Regions from separate parts of the Homo sapiens genome. Here region 2 is linked to region 1. Evidence: promoter capture Hi-C in 16 types of primary human blood cells and fetal thymus (Javierre and others, 2016). All regions are on one chromosome and are shown on one strand. Each heading gives the region's core, a stretch centred on a gene start or on the middle of the fragment in contact. The rest is flanking DNA. Distances are from core to core; before and after follow the strand shown. Region 1 holds the start of SLC52A1 (solute carrier family 52 member 1). Region 2 holds the start of MINK1 (misshapen like kinase 1).

Region 1 (7,726 bases), core at 2,312-4,811:
AATAGTAGCCACTCCATTGGACTTTTGGGAGGATTGTTTGTTAATATTTTTTAAATATTTATGCCAGTACCTGGCATATAACAAGAAAAGTGTTGGATAGGCCAGGCGCGGTGGCTCACGCCTGTAATCGCAACAGTTTGGGAGGCCGAGGTGGGCGGATCACGAGGTCAGAAGATCGAGACCATCCTGGCTAACACGGTGAAACCCCGTCTCTACTAAAAAATACAAAAAAATTAGCCGGGTGTGGTGGTGGGCGCCTGTAGTCCCAGCTACTCAGGAGGCTGAGGCAGGAGAATGGTGTGAACCCAGGAGGCAGAGCTTGCAGTGAGCCGAGATTGCGCCACTGCACGCCAGTCTGGGCAACAGAGCAAGACTCTGTCTCGAAAAAAAAAAAAAGAAAAGTGCTGGATAAATGGTGTCTTTTCTCATCCTCTTGGAGTATTAGAAACATCATTGTTTGGTATTACTGTGGGAAACTAAATGTGACCCCATTTCTGTCTGGTTTAGCCTTTCCCTAAGCAGTGAGGGCAAGCTTGGTTGCACATCAGAGTCACCTAGGAAGCTTTCAAAATTTATTTTACTATTTTTTTTTTAAGAGACAGGGTCTCCTTCTGTTGCCCAGGCTGGAGTGCAGTGGCATAATCATGGCTTGCTGCAGCCTCAAATTCCTGGGCTCAAGTGATCCTCTCACCTCAGGCTCCTGAGTAGCTGGAATTACAGGCACACACCACTGTGTCAGGCTTGTGTTTTTTGAAACACAGATTTTAGGCCGGGCGCAGTGGCTCACACATGTAATCCCAGCACTTTGGGAGGCTGAGGCGGGCGGATCACTTGAGGTCAGGAGTTCAAGACCAGCCTGGCCAACATGGTGAAACCCCGTCTCTACTAAAAATACAAAAAATTAGCCGGGCGTGGTGGCAGGCGCCTGTAGTCCCAGCTACTCGGGAGGCTGAGGCAGGAGAATGGCGTGAACCTGGGAGGCAGAGCTTGCAGTGAGCCGAGATTGAGCCACTGCACTCCAGCCTGGGCGACACAGTGAGACTCCGTCTCAAAAAAAAAAAAAAAAAAAAAAGGAAGGAAGAAAGAAAGAAACAGATTTTAGGGTATTATTGGAAGAAAGAAAGAAACAGATTTTAGGGTATTATTGGTTTATTTATTCAACAACAATTTGAGCACGTCCTATGTGGTATAATGATCACTGAGAATAGGGTAGGTAGTGAAATAGACAAAGTGCCTCCTCCGCGCAAACGTACATCCTAGTGAGGGAGATAGACCAGCAAACTTGTTCTGTAAATGGCCAGACAGTAAACATTTTAGGCTTTGAGGGCCACACAGTCTCTGTGGAAACCATTCAGCTCTGCCCTTATAGCAGGAAAGCAGGTGTAGACAATAGGTAAATGAATGGGCTTGGCTGTGTTCTGATAGTATTTTATTTATGGACACTGAAATTTTTTTTTGTTTGGGGGGGTGGATGGAGTCTCGCTCTGTTGTCTCGACTGGACTGCAGTGGCACAAGCTCAGCTCACTGCAACCTCCACCTCCCTGGTTCAAGCGATTCTCATATCTCAGCCTCCCGAGTAGCTGGGATTACAGGCGCCCGCCACCATACCCAGCTAATTTGTGTATTTTTAGTAGAGACGGGGTTCACCATGTTGGCCAGGCTGGTCTTGAACTCCTGATCTCAGGTGATCAGCCCGCCTCGGCCTCCCAAAGTGTTGGGATTACAGGCGTGAGCCACCACGCCTGGCCTACCGAAATTTAAATTTCATATGCTTTTAGTTTTCACGGGTTAGGAAATACGATTCTTTTGTTTTCTTTGTTTTTTGTTTTGTTTTGGTTTTAGACAGGGTCTCACTGTCACCCAAGCTGGAGTACATTGGCACAATCATGGCTCATTGCAGCCTTGACCTCCTGTGCTCAAGGGATGCTCTCACCTCAGACGCCTGAGTAGCTGGGACTACAGATATTGATTTTTTTTTCCAACCATTTAAAAATGTAAAAACAGCTGGACGTGGTGGCATGTGCTTGTAGTCCCAGCTGCTCAGGAGGCTGAGGTGGGAGGATCCTTGAGCCCAGGTATTTGAGGCTGCAGTGAGCTGTGATTGTGCTACTGCACTTCCTTTTGAGGAAGACACTTTCTCAAAAATAGTAATAAAAATAAATAAATAAATATGTGAAAACCTGTCTTAGCTAGCAGGCCATACAAAAATGGGTAGTAGGTCAGGGTAATCCCTGAGATGGTCAGTGAGTAAACAAGTACAAAATATCATTAAAGGGCCAGACATGGTGGCTCACGCCTGTAATCCCAGCACTTTGGGAGGCTGAGGCGGGCGGATCACCTGAGGTCAGGAGTTCGAGACGAGCCTGGCCAATATGGTGAAACCCCATCTCTACGAAAAATACAAAAATTATCCAGGCGTGGTGGCAGGCGTCTGTAATCCCAGCTACTCGGGAGTCTGAGGCAGGAGAATGGCGTGAACCTGGAAGGTGGAGCTTGCAGTGAGCCGAGATCGCGCCACTGCACTCCAGCCTGGGCGACAGAGCGAGACTCCGTCTCAAAAAAAAAAAAAAAAAAAAAAAAAAGCAAAAATTAGCCAGGTGTGCACACCACGTCCAGCTAATTTTTTTTCAACCATTTAAAAGTGTAAAAACAGCTGGCCAGGCACGGTGGCTCACGCCTGTAATCCCCAACACTTTGGGAGGCCGGGGCAGGTGGATCACCTGAGGTCAGGAGTTCAAGACCAGCCTAGCTAACATGGCGAGACCCTGTGCACTAAAAAGACAAAAATTAGCAGGGCATGGTGGTGGGCGCCTGTAATTCCAGCTACTCGGGAGGCTGAGGCAGGAGAATGGCTTGAACCCGGGAGGCAGAGGCTCGTGCCATTGCACTCCAGCCTGGGCAACAAGAGCAAAACTCCGTCTCAAAAAAAAAAAAAAAAAAAAAAAGTGTAAAAACAGCTGAGCGTGGCGGTAGCTAGGTGTGGTGCGTCTGTAGTCCCAGCTACTTGGGAGGCTGAGGTAGGAAGATTGCTTGAGCCCAGGAGTGCCAAGCCAGCCTGAGCAACATAGTGAGACCTTGTCTCTACCAAAAAAAAAAAAAAAAAAAAAAAAAATTAGCTGGACATGGTGATGCTCGCCTGTGGTCCCAGCTACTTGTGGGGGGGTGGGGAGAGGCTGAGTGGGAGGATCCCTTGAGCTTGGGAGGTTGAGGCTGTAGTGAGCCGCGATCGCGCACCGCTGCGCTCTAGCCTGGGTGACAGAGTGAGACCCCGTCTCAAAATTAATTAATTAATTAAAACAACAAACAACAAAACCCCAGCTGTGTGGGCTCTGGGCTGGGCCGCCTCCCCGGCGGAGGGGGCTCCCTCTCAGGCAGACCGCCAGCCGCTGGGTCCGGGGACTGCCGGATCCGGAGGTGCGGGGACCCCTGCGCACCTGGCGGCTCCCGGGATGCCCCCCTGAGGCAGGCGGGAGGGCAGCACGGAGACGCCCCTCCGGGCAGAGCCCGCCCCAGCCACTCCCCTCTCCAACTCGACCTGCCTCAGCAAGTCCTGAGTGTCGCAAAAGCGCTAGGGTTGCAAGTGGCACCAGAGACGTGCCCTTGTCCCGGGGTCCATTTGAGGGTGAGCGTGTTGGTGCCGAGCTGTTTTTTTGTTTTGTTTTGTTTTGTTTTGTTTTTGAGACCGAATCTCGTTCTGTCGCCCAGGCTGGAATGCAGTGGTGTGATCTTGGCTCACTGCAACCTCCACCTTCCGGGTTCAAGTGAATCTCCTGCCTCAGCCTCCTGAGTAGCTGGGATTACTGGCACCCACCACCACGACCAGCTAATTTTTGTATTTTTAGTAGAGACGGGTTTTCACCATGTTGGCCAGGATGGTCTCAATCTCCTGACCTCAGGCGATCTGCCTTCCTCAGCTTCCCAAAGTGCTGGGATTACAGGTGTGAGCCACCGCACCCGGCCAGTGCTGAGCTGTTTTGACAACTTGGACCCCGGGTCCTCTGTGGGTAGGAAAATCAGCTCCCTCTTTGCTCCTCTGGGGCAGCTGCACCTCGGGCCAGCTTTCTGCCTGTCTGCCTGCCGGCACTGCTGGGTCGCTGTACCCAAACGCACAGCCGGTGCCCCGTGGTAAGTCCTGGCTCCCCACCTTCCCCGCCCGCCCCCGGCCACCTCTCCCTCCAGTTGCCCTGGTCTTAGCAGTCTGACCGACTTGTCTTCTGACTCCGGTTCTGTCCCACCAGCCTATTACCTGCCAGCCTGTCTGTTTCCCTCCAGCTAGAAGGTCTTCAGTTTCCAGAAGAACCAAAGCATCTTTGGACCTACCTAGGGAAGGACCTGCCTGTGACCTTTGCCCTGTCCTGGAGGGTCCAGCTTTGGGCTGAATGGCAGCACCCACGCTGGGCCGTCTGGTGCTGACCCACCTGCTGGTGGCCCTTTTTGGCATGGGCTCCTGGGCTGCTGTGAACGGGATCTGGGTGGAGCTGCCTGTGGTGGTAAAAGACCTTCCAGAGGGTGAGTGGGAGGGAGGTACAGGGAAGCGTGGGGCAGGTATGCCCAGAAAGGTGGCCTGTGGCAGCTCTTTGTCCCTTAGCCACTGTGCTCCTGACATGGCATCATTCCTTCCCTGCAGGTTGGAGCCTCCCCTCATACCTCTCTGTGGTTGTGGCGCTGGGAAACCTGGGTCTGCTGGTGGTGACCCTGTGGAGGCAGCTGGCCCCGGGCAAGGGCGAGCAGGTCCCCATCCAGGTGGTACAGGTGCTGAGTGTAGTGGGCACAGCCCTGCTGGCCCCTCTGTGGCACCACGTGGCCCCAGTGGCAGGGCAGCTCCACTCTGTGGCCTTCCTAACTCTGGCCTTGGTGTTGGCAATGGCCTGTTGTACCTCTAATGTCACTTTCCTGCCCTTCCTGAGCCACCTGCCACCTCCTTTCTTACGGTCTTTCTTCCTGGGTCAGGGTCTCAGTGCCCTACTCCCCTGTGTGCTGGCCCTAGTGCAAGGTGTGGGCCGCCTCGAGTGCCCACCAGCGCCCACCAATGGCACCTCTGGGCCTCCCCTCGACTTCCCTGAGCGTTTTCCTGCCAGCACCTTCTTCTGGGCACTGACTGCCCTTCTGGTCACTTCAGCTGCCGCCTTCCGGGGTCTCCTGTTGCTGTTGCCATCACTACCCTCTGTAACCACAGGGGGCTCAGGGCCTGAACTTCAACTGGGATCCCCAGGAGCAGAGGAGGAAGAGAAGGAGGAAGAAGAGGCTTTGCCATTGCAGGAGCCACCGAGCCAGGCAGCAGGCACCATCCCTGGCCCAGACCCTGAGGCCCATCAGCTGTTCTCAGCCCATGGTGCCTTCCTGCTGGGCCTGATGGCCTTCACCAGTGCCGTGACCAATGGCGTGCTGCCTTCTGTGCAGAGCTTTTCCTGTTTGCCCTATGGGCGCCTGGCCTACCACCTGGCTGTGGTGCTGGGCAGTGCCGCCAACCCCCTTGCCTGCTTCCTGGCCATGGGCGTGCTGTGCAGGTGCAAAAGGGTCCCCAGGCTTGGTGGGTGGAACTTAAGGTTGGGGTCCAGGTCCCAGAACAGCCAGCCCTGAGTCTCTGCTCATCCCCAACAGGTCCCTGGCAGGGCTGGTTGGTCTTTCTCTGCTGGGCATGCTCTTTGGGGCCTACCTGATGGCACTGGCAATCCTGAGCCCCTGCCCACCCCTGGTGGGCACCACTGCAGGGGTGGTCCTTGTGGTGAGCAAGTGGAGACATGAAGTGGGGAGGAGGGTGTCCCCTGGAGCAAGTGCATGTCATGCTCAGCCTGCTGCTGTGTCCTCCCTTGCAGGTGCTGTCGTGGGTGCTGTGTCTGTGTGTGTTCTCATATGTGAAGGTGGCTGCAAGCTCCCTGCTGCATGGTGGGGGTCGGCCGGCATTGCTGGCAGCTGGTGTGGCCATCCAAGTGGGCTCCCTGCTTGGTGCCGGTGCCATGTTCCCTCCCACCAGCATCTACCACGTGTTTCAAAGCAGAAAGGACTGTGTAGACCCCTGTGGCCCCTGAGCCTGGGCAGGTGGGGACCCAACTCCACCCCACCTGTCTTCATCGTGAGGCTGCCACAGTGCCTGACTACTTGTGGCCCAGGCAGGCTTCCCCCAACACAGGAACGCTCATGGACACCTGCACACTCCACAGAAGACGTTGGCATGTGAGGCCAGGGTGGGCACCAAAGACCAGGCCCAGAGCCAGGGGACAGGTTGGGGCTGTGGGCTTGGACCCAGGGCCTGAGACCTTTGTGGGATTTGTGCAATAAAGTGTTTTTATTTAAAACCAAAAACAAAAACAAAAGCCTAATGAAAACCTTATAAGAAATATATAATGAAATCAGGAAACTGGATTAAATAATTTTTCATACATATATTATCTAGTGTGCAATTAGATTTAAATACAGATTGTAGTGCCTTTCTTATATCCACAGCTTATCTCTTCTTCTGTGGGTTTTCTTGTCAAAAACCTTTCTTACTCAAGTGAGTCTCTGTCATTTGCTATGGGATTGGCCTTTAAAGACAACGGAGTCTCACTCTGTTGCTCAGGCTGGAGTGCAGTGGTGCAATCTCGGCTCACTGCAACCTCTGCCTCCCGGGTTCAAGCGATTCTCCTGCCTCAGCCTCCTGAGTAGCTGGGATTACAGGCGTGTGCCACCACGACCGGCTAATTTTGTAATTTTAGTAGAGACGGGGGGTTTCACCATGTTGGTCAGGCTGGTCTCGAACTCCTGACCTCGTGATCCGCCCGCCTTGGCCTCCCAAAGTGCTGGGATTATAGGCGTGAGCCGCCGCGCCCAGTGGAAACATGGATTACTTCAATTTTCTTCCTTCTGCTTTTCTGTATTTGTTAAATTTCAAATAAAGCAAACCCTGATCCAAAACCTCCTCTAATAAGCGGGGATTGTTTCCCCTAAGGTCGATCTACCCCCTAGCACAGTCCCTAAGGCAGAAGAAGCTGCTCAATGAAGGCTTCTCTTCCTTTTCTTTGGAACTCAAGAGCACCCACGAAGGGGAAGAAATGCTAATTCTGAAAGGAGTCAGGTCCTCCCTTCTGAAAAACGAAGATGACAGCTAGTCCTGGGGGAAGAGGAAATCCCCGCAGGGCTCCCGCCCACCTCCGGACCTTCCTCCAGACACGCGGAATACAGAAGCCCAAGCCCGGCGCCGCGTCACCCCAGCCAGCCTTCTGCGCGTGCGCCCTCCCGCCTCGCGCCCCCCGCCCCGCCCGCCTCGCACCTCCCCCACGCCTCGCACCCACCCCCCGGCCTCGCACCCCCACCGCCCGCCCGCCCGGGAGACTCACAGGCGCGCAGGGCCGCAGGGGTCCCCTCGGCCACTCGTTCTCAAGGCTCCGTGAACGCGCAAGCAAAGACGTCCTTCGAGGGAACCTTTTCTCCTCCTGGCGGACAAGAGTGGAACGACAGGGCTTGAGGAGAAGTTTTGCCAGGTTGGGGGTGACATCTTTTGAAACTTGACCTCGTTTTTTATTTTGTTTGTTTGCTTGCTTGCTTGCTTGAGACGGAGTCTCGCTCTATTGCCCAGGCTGGAGTGCAATGGTGCAGTCTCGGCTCACTGCAACCTCCACCTCCTGGGTTCAAGCGATTCTCCTCCCTCAACCTCCCAAGTAGCCGGGATTACAGGTGCCCACCACCATGCCCGTCTAATTTTTGTATTTTTAGTAGAGACGGGCTTTCACCATGTTGGCCAGGCTG
Region 2 (7,726 bases), core at 484-2,983, 200 kb after region 1:
TTCAGCGTTCAGTCCCTCTCCCCAGAAATTTATCACGTTATCTCCAGCAAGTCAGGTCTCATAGCCCAACATTGCACCAAACAAATTATGACCTGAAAATGGGAAGAAAAAAAACTGTGTCACCTAGAGAAACCCAATTAACAACATGACTCTGCTCTCTTCAATTCCCCTCTCCCCTCCAGCCATATCCGGGGCACCTGTGTGGCTGACCGCCTTTTCCCACTACTGGCCATGTTCCCTGGCTGACTCAAAAGCCAGAAGACAGTCTGAGCAGGGGCCTCCAGAGAAGCGAACCTAGAGATGGGAAGTCCTGCTCTCCCCACACCTTGGCCTGGTGAGAGCGCTGGAAGGGCACAGGATCAAAACACCACCTGGCTGATAGTCTGGAGTGTTCACCTTGAAATCACTAAGTTGCCCCTTAAGCCAAAGCTCCCTGCCGAAGAAAAACATAAATGCTACAGAAAGCTCTTCCACCAGAGTGTGTAAGTGCCCCACAAGGGACAATGAACGGGTATTTCCAAGAAATTCCTGCAGCATTTGCTTCCTCTCAACCCCTTTCCTTATTAGCCCCTACCTTGAGAGGTCTCCATTGCTTCCAGCCTTTAGCTAACATAAACACCCACTGCCTTTCCAAACCTTCAGCCTGACCACATGTAGCATGTGTCGTGTGTGCGCGTGTGTGTGTGTGTAAACATCCTCTTCCCAGCCCGTGCTACAGTTTCCAAAGAGAAGAAATGCCTCCCCTCCTCCCCGAGGGCTCCCAGCCCCACGCTGCTGCAGAGTTGGTCATGTAATATTCAGGGACCCTGAGACCGGAAATGCCTGGTTCTGAACTGCTGCACTTGAAACAGGAGAGAAGGGATAGGGAAAACTGAACATGGGATTGAGGGTGACGGCACGAGGGGTGGGGTAGCTGAAATTCCGACCAGGGAAAGGATGCAATTCAAGGGTGGGCGAGGCAGAGAAAGAGGGATGAGAGAGAGGCTGTCGAGACAGTTGCAAAGTCAAAATTCCAGGAGCTGAGGAAGAGGAGGGGAAGGAAGAAGATAGAAGTAAGGGCAAAGGTGGAAAAGGGCCGAAAGGAGGTAAGGAACCACAATAAAGGTTCTCCAGGTGATGGGGGAGGCTAAGTTTAGGCGAACCAGTGGGTCCCGAACCCCAGAGTAAAGGTAGGGTGGCACGGAAGTGTGGGGGCGGGGCACCACAGGGTGGGGACCGAACTGGCTCCCAGCATCTGCAGCCAGTGGAGAGAGAAGGGAGCAGAGGGCGGGGGCCCAGCCGCGGCGGGAGTCCGGGAAAGGGGCACGGGTCGCCAAGGGGACCCAAGCTGGTGGAGGGGGCGCCCGGGAGCACGTGAGGCGTGCAGCCACCCCGCTCCCTCCCCTGCGGCGGGGACAGGAACCAGGGCGAGGCTGGGGGACGGCGCGCTCACCCGCAGGGCGGACAGGTCGATGTCGTCCAGGCTGCGGGCGGGGGCTGGGTCGCCCATGGCCTCCGTGGGGAACGGGGCACCGGGGCCGCTCACGCTCCGGCTCGGTTACTCCACTGCCGCCGTCGCCGCTTCTCCCCCATCGGAGAACCCCGGGGGCGGACTCCACCGCGCCTCCCCCGGAGACCGGGGAGGGGGAGGGCCGGCGCGAGGACCGACCCACCGACTGACAGGCGCTATCTCCCCGGAGCCAGCCACCCGAGCCTACCACCTCTCCTGCGCAGGCGCGGAGCGACCGCGCACTGGGAGGGTGGAAGCGCGAGCGTGACGCGAGCGCGCCGGGGCCCCCTCCCCCTAGGCGCCGACACCTGCGCGCAGGCGCAGGCGAGCAGGCGAAAGGCGCGCGCGAGGACGGAGCGACCGCGCGAGCCTGGCGTGAAAGAAGTGGGCGGCGGCCGAGGCGGCCGCGGAGCGCGCCCACCAGCTGGTGCGCGTGCGCACACGCGTTTCCTTTTCTTTCCCTATTTTTTTTGCCCTTTCTCTCCCTTATTTCCTTCTCAGATCTCCTTTGACGCCTTTCCTTCCCTTTCCCTCCTTCTTTCGTGTGCCCAGCTGCCAATCAAGCCACCCACCTTTCCATTTGCGGGGGAAGGGGGCGGTACCCAACCCCCTCTATTACTAGGGGGTTGTTATGGTAACTCCCCACGCGAGGGCTGGGTGGCCTCTAGATAGGACGGGCTGTCCACCCACCCAATTGCTATGGCAACAGTGGAGCCGCTGAGGGAGGGGCCACTCCGTGAGAACTTGGCTGGAGAAACCACGTGGGAGTTGGGGGGCAGAGGAGGGGCACCGGCTGCCTCAGGAATGCCCTTTCCACCCTCACCTAGCAGGTTGGGGAAGCATCGAGGTGCTCTCAGATCTCAGGATAAGGAATCCTACCGCAGACGTGTATCTCTGCACCTCTTTTAACAAAGTGTTCTGCACAAAGGAACTGTTTCCACAATTATTCATTGATCACTGGAGTCGCGCGTGGAGGAAGGGGTGGCGAAGGGGAAGAGAGGGAATCTGCGTTCAGTCCCTTAAAATATAGCTTGGGTCACCTTAGATCTAGTCATGTTGGCATAGCGCCTACAGCCATTAGCCTCAGTGGAGGCTGGGTAATGCTATCTAAGAACCACGAGTCATGTTCTACCACTGAAATGCTGTGTGACCTTGAGCAAGTTGCTTTGCTTCTCTGAGGTTTTCTTTCACTGTGAAATTGAGGGGGGAGGCTGTATGATCCTCAAGAGCTCTTCTAGCACCAACACTGCCTCTGAAAGACTCCACCACCAGCCTTAATATAAACATCATTTAAGAGAGTTTAATTTAGAAGTCCTTGAAAAATAGCTGAACACATTCCTTTCTGGACCGTTTTTAGCATTTGGGTGCACAGCCAGTCGGCCCCCTTCCCTAACCCCTAGCCCATTTTCCTTGCCACTGCCCTTATTCAAGCCGCTATCCCCATTCATCTCCTATTTGGCCTTCCGGCCTGACTCCTTCAAGTCAATTCTATTTTTTTTTTTTTTTTTTTTTTTTTGAGACAGAGTCTCACTCTGTCGCCCAGGCTGGAGTGCAGTGGTGCGATCTTAGCTCACTGCAAGCTCCGCTTTCCGGGTTCATGCCATTCTCCTGCCTCAGCCTCCTGAGTAGCTGGGACTACAGGCGCCCGCCACCTCGCCCGGCTAATTTTTTGTATTTTTAGTGGAGACGGGGTTTCACCATGTTAGCCAGGATGGTCTCGATCTCATGACCTCGTGATCCGCCCGCCTCGGCCTCCCAAAGTGCTGGGATTACAGGCGTCAGCCACTGTGCCCAGCCTCTATTTTTTTTTTTTTAAAGACAAAGTCTCGCTCTGTCACCCAGGCTGGAGTACAATGGTATGATCTCTGCTCACTGCAACCTCAAGCTTCTGGGCTCAAGCTATCCTCCAACCTCAGCCTCCCAAGTAGCCAGGACTACAGGCAGCGCATGCCACTACACCTGGCTGATTTTTATATGTTTTGTAGAGATGGGGCTTTGCCATGTCGCCCAATCTGGTCTCAAACCCCTGGCCTCAAGTGATCTGCCTGCCTCGGCCTCCCAAAATGCGGAGATTACAGGATCCCTTGAGGACAGGAGTTGGAGGCCAGCCTGGCCAACATGGTGGGGTTTTTTGTTTGTTTTTTTTTTTTTTTTTTTTTTTTTAGACAGTTTTAGTTTAGTTTAGTTTTTTTGTGAATTTGTGAATTTGTTTTTATTGGGGAACAGGACACAGGGTGGAAAATGTCACCTTGGTGGAGACAGAGTTTTGTTCTCGTTGCCCAGGCTGGAGTGCAGTGGCACAATCTTGGCTCACTGCAACCTCCGCCTCCCGGGTTCAAGCAATTCTCCTATCTCAGCCTCCTGAGTAGCTGGGATTACAGGTGCACGCCACCACGCGTAGCTAATTTTTTGTATTTTCAGTTGAGACGGGGTTTCATCATGTTGGCCAGGCTGGTCTCGAACTCCTGGTCTCAGGTGATCCACCTGCATTGGCCTCCCAAAGTGCAGGGATTACAGGCGTGAACCACCACAACCGGCCAAGCCTCGCAGACATAGTGAAACTCTGTCTCTATTAAAAATACAAAAAATTGGCCGGGCACGGTGGCTTGCGCCTGTAATCCCAGCACTTTTGGGGAGGCCGAGACGAGTGGATCACCTGAGGTCAGGAGTTTGAGACCAGCCTGGACAACATGGTGAAACCATGTCTCTACTAAAAATACAAAAATTAGCCGGGCATGGTGGCAGGCGCCTGTAATCCCAGCTATTCGGGATGCCGATGCAGAAGAATCGCTTGAACCCGGGAGGCAGAGGTTGCAGTGAGCCGAGAACGTGCCACTGCACTCCAGCCTGGGTGACAGAGCAAGACAACGTCTCAAAAAAAAAAAAAAAAAAAAAGCCGGGTGCAGTGGCTCACGCCTGTAATCCCAGCACTTTTGGGGAGGCCGAGACGAGTGGATCACCTGAGGTCAGGAGTTTGAGACCAGCCTGGACAACATGGTGAAACCATGTCTCTACTAAAAATACAAAAATTAGCCGGGCATGGTGGCAGGCGCCTGTAATCCCAGCTATTCGGGATGCCGATGCAGAAGAATCGCTTGAACCCGGGAGGCAGAGGTTGCAGTGAGCCGAGAACGTGCCACTGCACTCCAGCCTGGGTGACAGAGCAAGACAACGTCTCAAAAAAAAAAAAAAAAAAAAAGCCGGGTGCAGTGGCTCACGCCTGTAATCCCAGCACTTTGGGAGGCTGAGGCGGGAGGATCACGAGGTCAGGAGATCAAGACCATCCTGGCTAACACGGTGAAACCCCGTCTCTACCAAAAATACAAAAAAAAATTAGCCGGGCGTGGTGGTGGGCGCCTGTAGTCCCAGCTACTCCGGAGGCTGAGGCAGGAGAATGGTGTGAACCCCGGAGGCGGAGCTTGCAGTGAGCCGAGGTCGTGCCACTGCACTCCAGCCTGGGCGACAGAGCAAGACTCCGTCTCAAAAAAAAAAAAAAAAAAAATTGGCCGGGCGTGGTGGCTCATGCCTGCAATCCCAGCACTTGGGGAAGCCAAGGCAGGCGACTGCACTCCAGCCTGGGCAACAGCGCGAGACTCTGTCTCAAAAAAAAAAAAAAAAAAAAAAGGCCAGGCACGGTGGCTCACGCCTGTAATCCCAGCACTTTGGGAGGCCAAGGCAGGTGGATCACGAGGTCAAGAGATCGAGACCATCCTGACAAACATGGAGAAACCCCGTCTCTACTAAAAATACAAAATTGGCCGTGTGTGGTGGCGCATGCCTGTAATCCCAGCTACTTAGGAGGCCGGGGCAGGAGAATCTCTTGAATCTGGGAGGCGGAGGTTGTGGTGAGCCGAGATCATGCCATTGCACTCCAGCTTGGGCAACAAGAGCGAAACTCCATCTCAAAACAAAACAAAAACCAGATTGGCTGGGCATGGTGGCTCACACCTGTAATCCCCGCACTTTGGGAGGCTGAGGCAGGTGGATCACCTGAGATTGGGAGTTCGAGACCAGCCTGGCCAACATGGTGAAATGCCGTCTCTACTAAAAATACAAAAAATTAGCCGGGCGTGGTGGGGTGTGCCTATAATCCCAGCTACTTGGGAGGCTGAGGCAAGAGGATTGCTTGAACCCAGGAGGCAGAGGTTGCAGTGAGCTGAGATTGCACCACTGCACTCCCGCCTGGGTGACAGCGTGAGACTCTGTCTCATAAAAAAAAAAAAAAAAAAAAAAAAAAAAAAGGCAAAGTGTGGCATCAAAGACCCTTCAAGATTCTGCTGGCTTTTCTTGCCTTCTTTTTCTTTGTTAACGGTTTGCTTCTTTAGGAGTTGGGGTCTTGCTCTATCACCCAGGCTAGAGTGTAGTGGCACGATCATGGCTTACGGCAGCCTCCAACTCCTGGGCTCAAGTGTTAATCCTGCCTCAGGCTCTTGAGTTGCTGGGATTATAGGCATGAACCACCCTGCTCAGTGCCTGCCTTACTTTTCAATACTCAACTATTAGACCTCACATTTTCCAGCCATACTGAAATACTCTACTCACTTCCCAGAACTCAACTTTCTCTCCCCCAACCTTTGCATGTACTCTGTTTTCTCTTTGGAATATTCCCTAGCCTCTTGACCATGCCCATTCTTACCGTGCTTTGCTTTGTCCTACGTGTCTAAATCACCTCCTCCATGAAGCGTTCCTTGACTCACCAAGACTAAGTTTGGTTCTTCTGTTTTAGCTGCCTGGCTTTAGTCCATGGTAACATTTAATGATTTGAATTGTAAATGTCTTTTGAATCTCCTTAAAAGCAGGAATAATATTAGTCTTGTTCAGCACATGGCCTGGCACCCACTAGAAAATCAATAACGCTTAAAAAAAAAACAAAAGAAAGAAAATCACTAACACTTAAGCAATGAAGGTGGCCAGGCACCGTGGCCCATGCCTGTAATCCCAGCACTTTGGGAGGCTGAGGCGGGTGGATCACCTGAGGTCAGGGGTTCGAGACCAGCCTGACCAATATGGTGAAAACCTGTCTCTATGAAAAATACAAAAATTAGCTGGGCGTGGTGGTGTGCACCTGTAATCCCGGCTAGGTGGGAGGCTGAGGCAGGGGAATTGCTTGAACCCGGGAGGCGGAGGTTGCAGTGAGCTGTGATCATGCCACTGCACTCCAGCCCGGGCGACAGAGCGAGACTCCATCCCCAAAAAAAAAAAAAAAAAAGTAATGAAGGCATCTGTTGTCTGGGTGGGCACTGTAGCAGTTCAAAGTCAAGACCATGGGATAGTAGGAAAAAGCATAGAATTTGGAGGTAGTGCGTTAGGCAAATCACTAACCTCTCTGAGGCTCAACTCTGTCATCTGTAAAATGGAGATGATAATAATAGGGAGGTTAGGATAAAATAATTTATGTAAAGCACTTAGCATATACTAGGTCCTCAATAAATTTACTAATGCCTCAGTCATAGAGGCTCCTTTTTCCATTCTGGGTTTAGAGCCAACTCTTCTGATTCTAAGCCCTCTGCTTCCACCGCCCACCCCCCCTCACTATGGTTGGTCTCCATTTAAAAAACTCCAGGACTAGGCTGGGCACAGTGGCTCATGCCTGCAATCCCAGCACTTTGGGAGGCTAAGGCGGGTGGATCACGAGATCAGGAGTTCCAGGCCAGCCTGGCCAACATGGTGAAACCCCGTGTCTACTAAAAGTACAAAAATTAGCCAGGCACGGTGCAGGGGGCCTGTAATCCCAGCTACTCGGGAGGCTGAGGCAGGAGAATTGCTTGAACCCGGGAGGTGGAGGTTGCAGTGAGCCAAGATTGTGCCACTGCACTCCAGCCTGGGTGACAGAGCAAGACTCCATCTCAAAAAAAACCGAAAACAAACAAAAACCTCCAGGACTAGGGAGGCGAAGGCAGAGAGTGTGAAGCAGAAGCCCTCGGCACCCCTGGCCCAGCCTGGGGCAACCGCTGCCTCTATCTCACTCCACGGTGAATGAGGTAATGGTCCCCCTCGGGGAAACAGGCAGTTAGTGCTGACAATGAGGCTAATTAACAGGATGCCAATTAGTACCAGGAGACCGCTATATGTAGGAGGGGGGAATTCTGGCACAGAAGTAGCTTCTTTAGCTTCTTGTGAGGACTGAGGGCTGAACTCGAAGGAGAGGATGAGGCAGAGCAACATCATCCCCTCTTCATGCCTCACCCACCCAGCACATCTCTCTTCCAGGAGGGCTTCCTAATCTCCATACTTCAC

Evidence for each region. Contacts are between HindIII fragments. The CHiCAGO score rates a contact against its expected background, and 5 or more counts as called.
Region 2: a contact is called between the fragment with the promoter of MINK1 here and the fragment with the promoter of SLC52A1 in region 1, in 8 of 17 cell types (neutrophils, monocytes, M0 macrophages and 5 more). The highest score is 8.8, in neutrophils.

The regions. Positions count from the first base shown.
Region 1 is chr17:5,031,261-5,038,986 of GRCh38, reverse strand. SLC52A1 (solute carrier family 52 member 1) reads left to right here and starts at 3,561. Exons shown (of 5, transcript NM_017986.4): 1 at 3,561-4,126; 2 at 4,274-4,510; 3 at 4,629-5,508; 4 at 5,603-5,726; 5 at 5,818-6,385. The coding sequence starts at 4,381. The coding sequence ends at 6,030. It overlaps LOC105371501 (a long non-coding RNA gene), which reads right to left. Exons shown (of 4, transcript XR_002958101.2): 3 at 7,318-7,413. RefSeq lists an enhancer at 7,070-7,209 and a silencer at 7,230-7,319. The HindIII fragment of the contact is 18,376 bases long and covers 565-7,726 here.
Region 2 is chr17:4,827,347-4,835,072 of GRCh38, reverse strand. It overlaps MINK1 (misshapen like kinase 1), which reads right to left and starts at 1,733. Exons shown (of 32, transcript NM_153827.5): 1 at 1,433-1,733. The coding sequence starts at 1,489. RefSeq lists silencers at 1,183-1,432, 1,443-1,912 and an enhancer at 1,890-2,676. The HindIII fragment of the contact is 4,876 bases long and covers 1-3,376 here.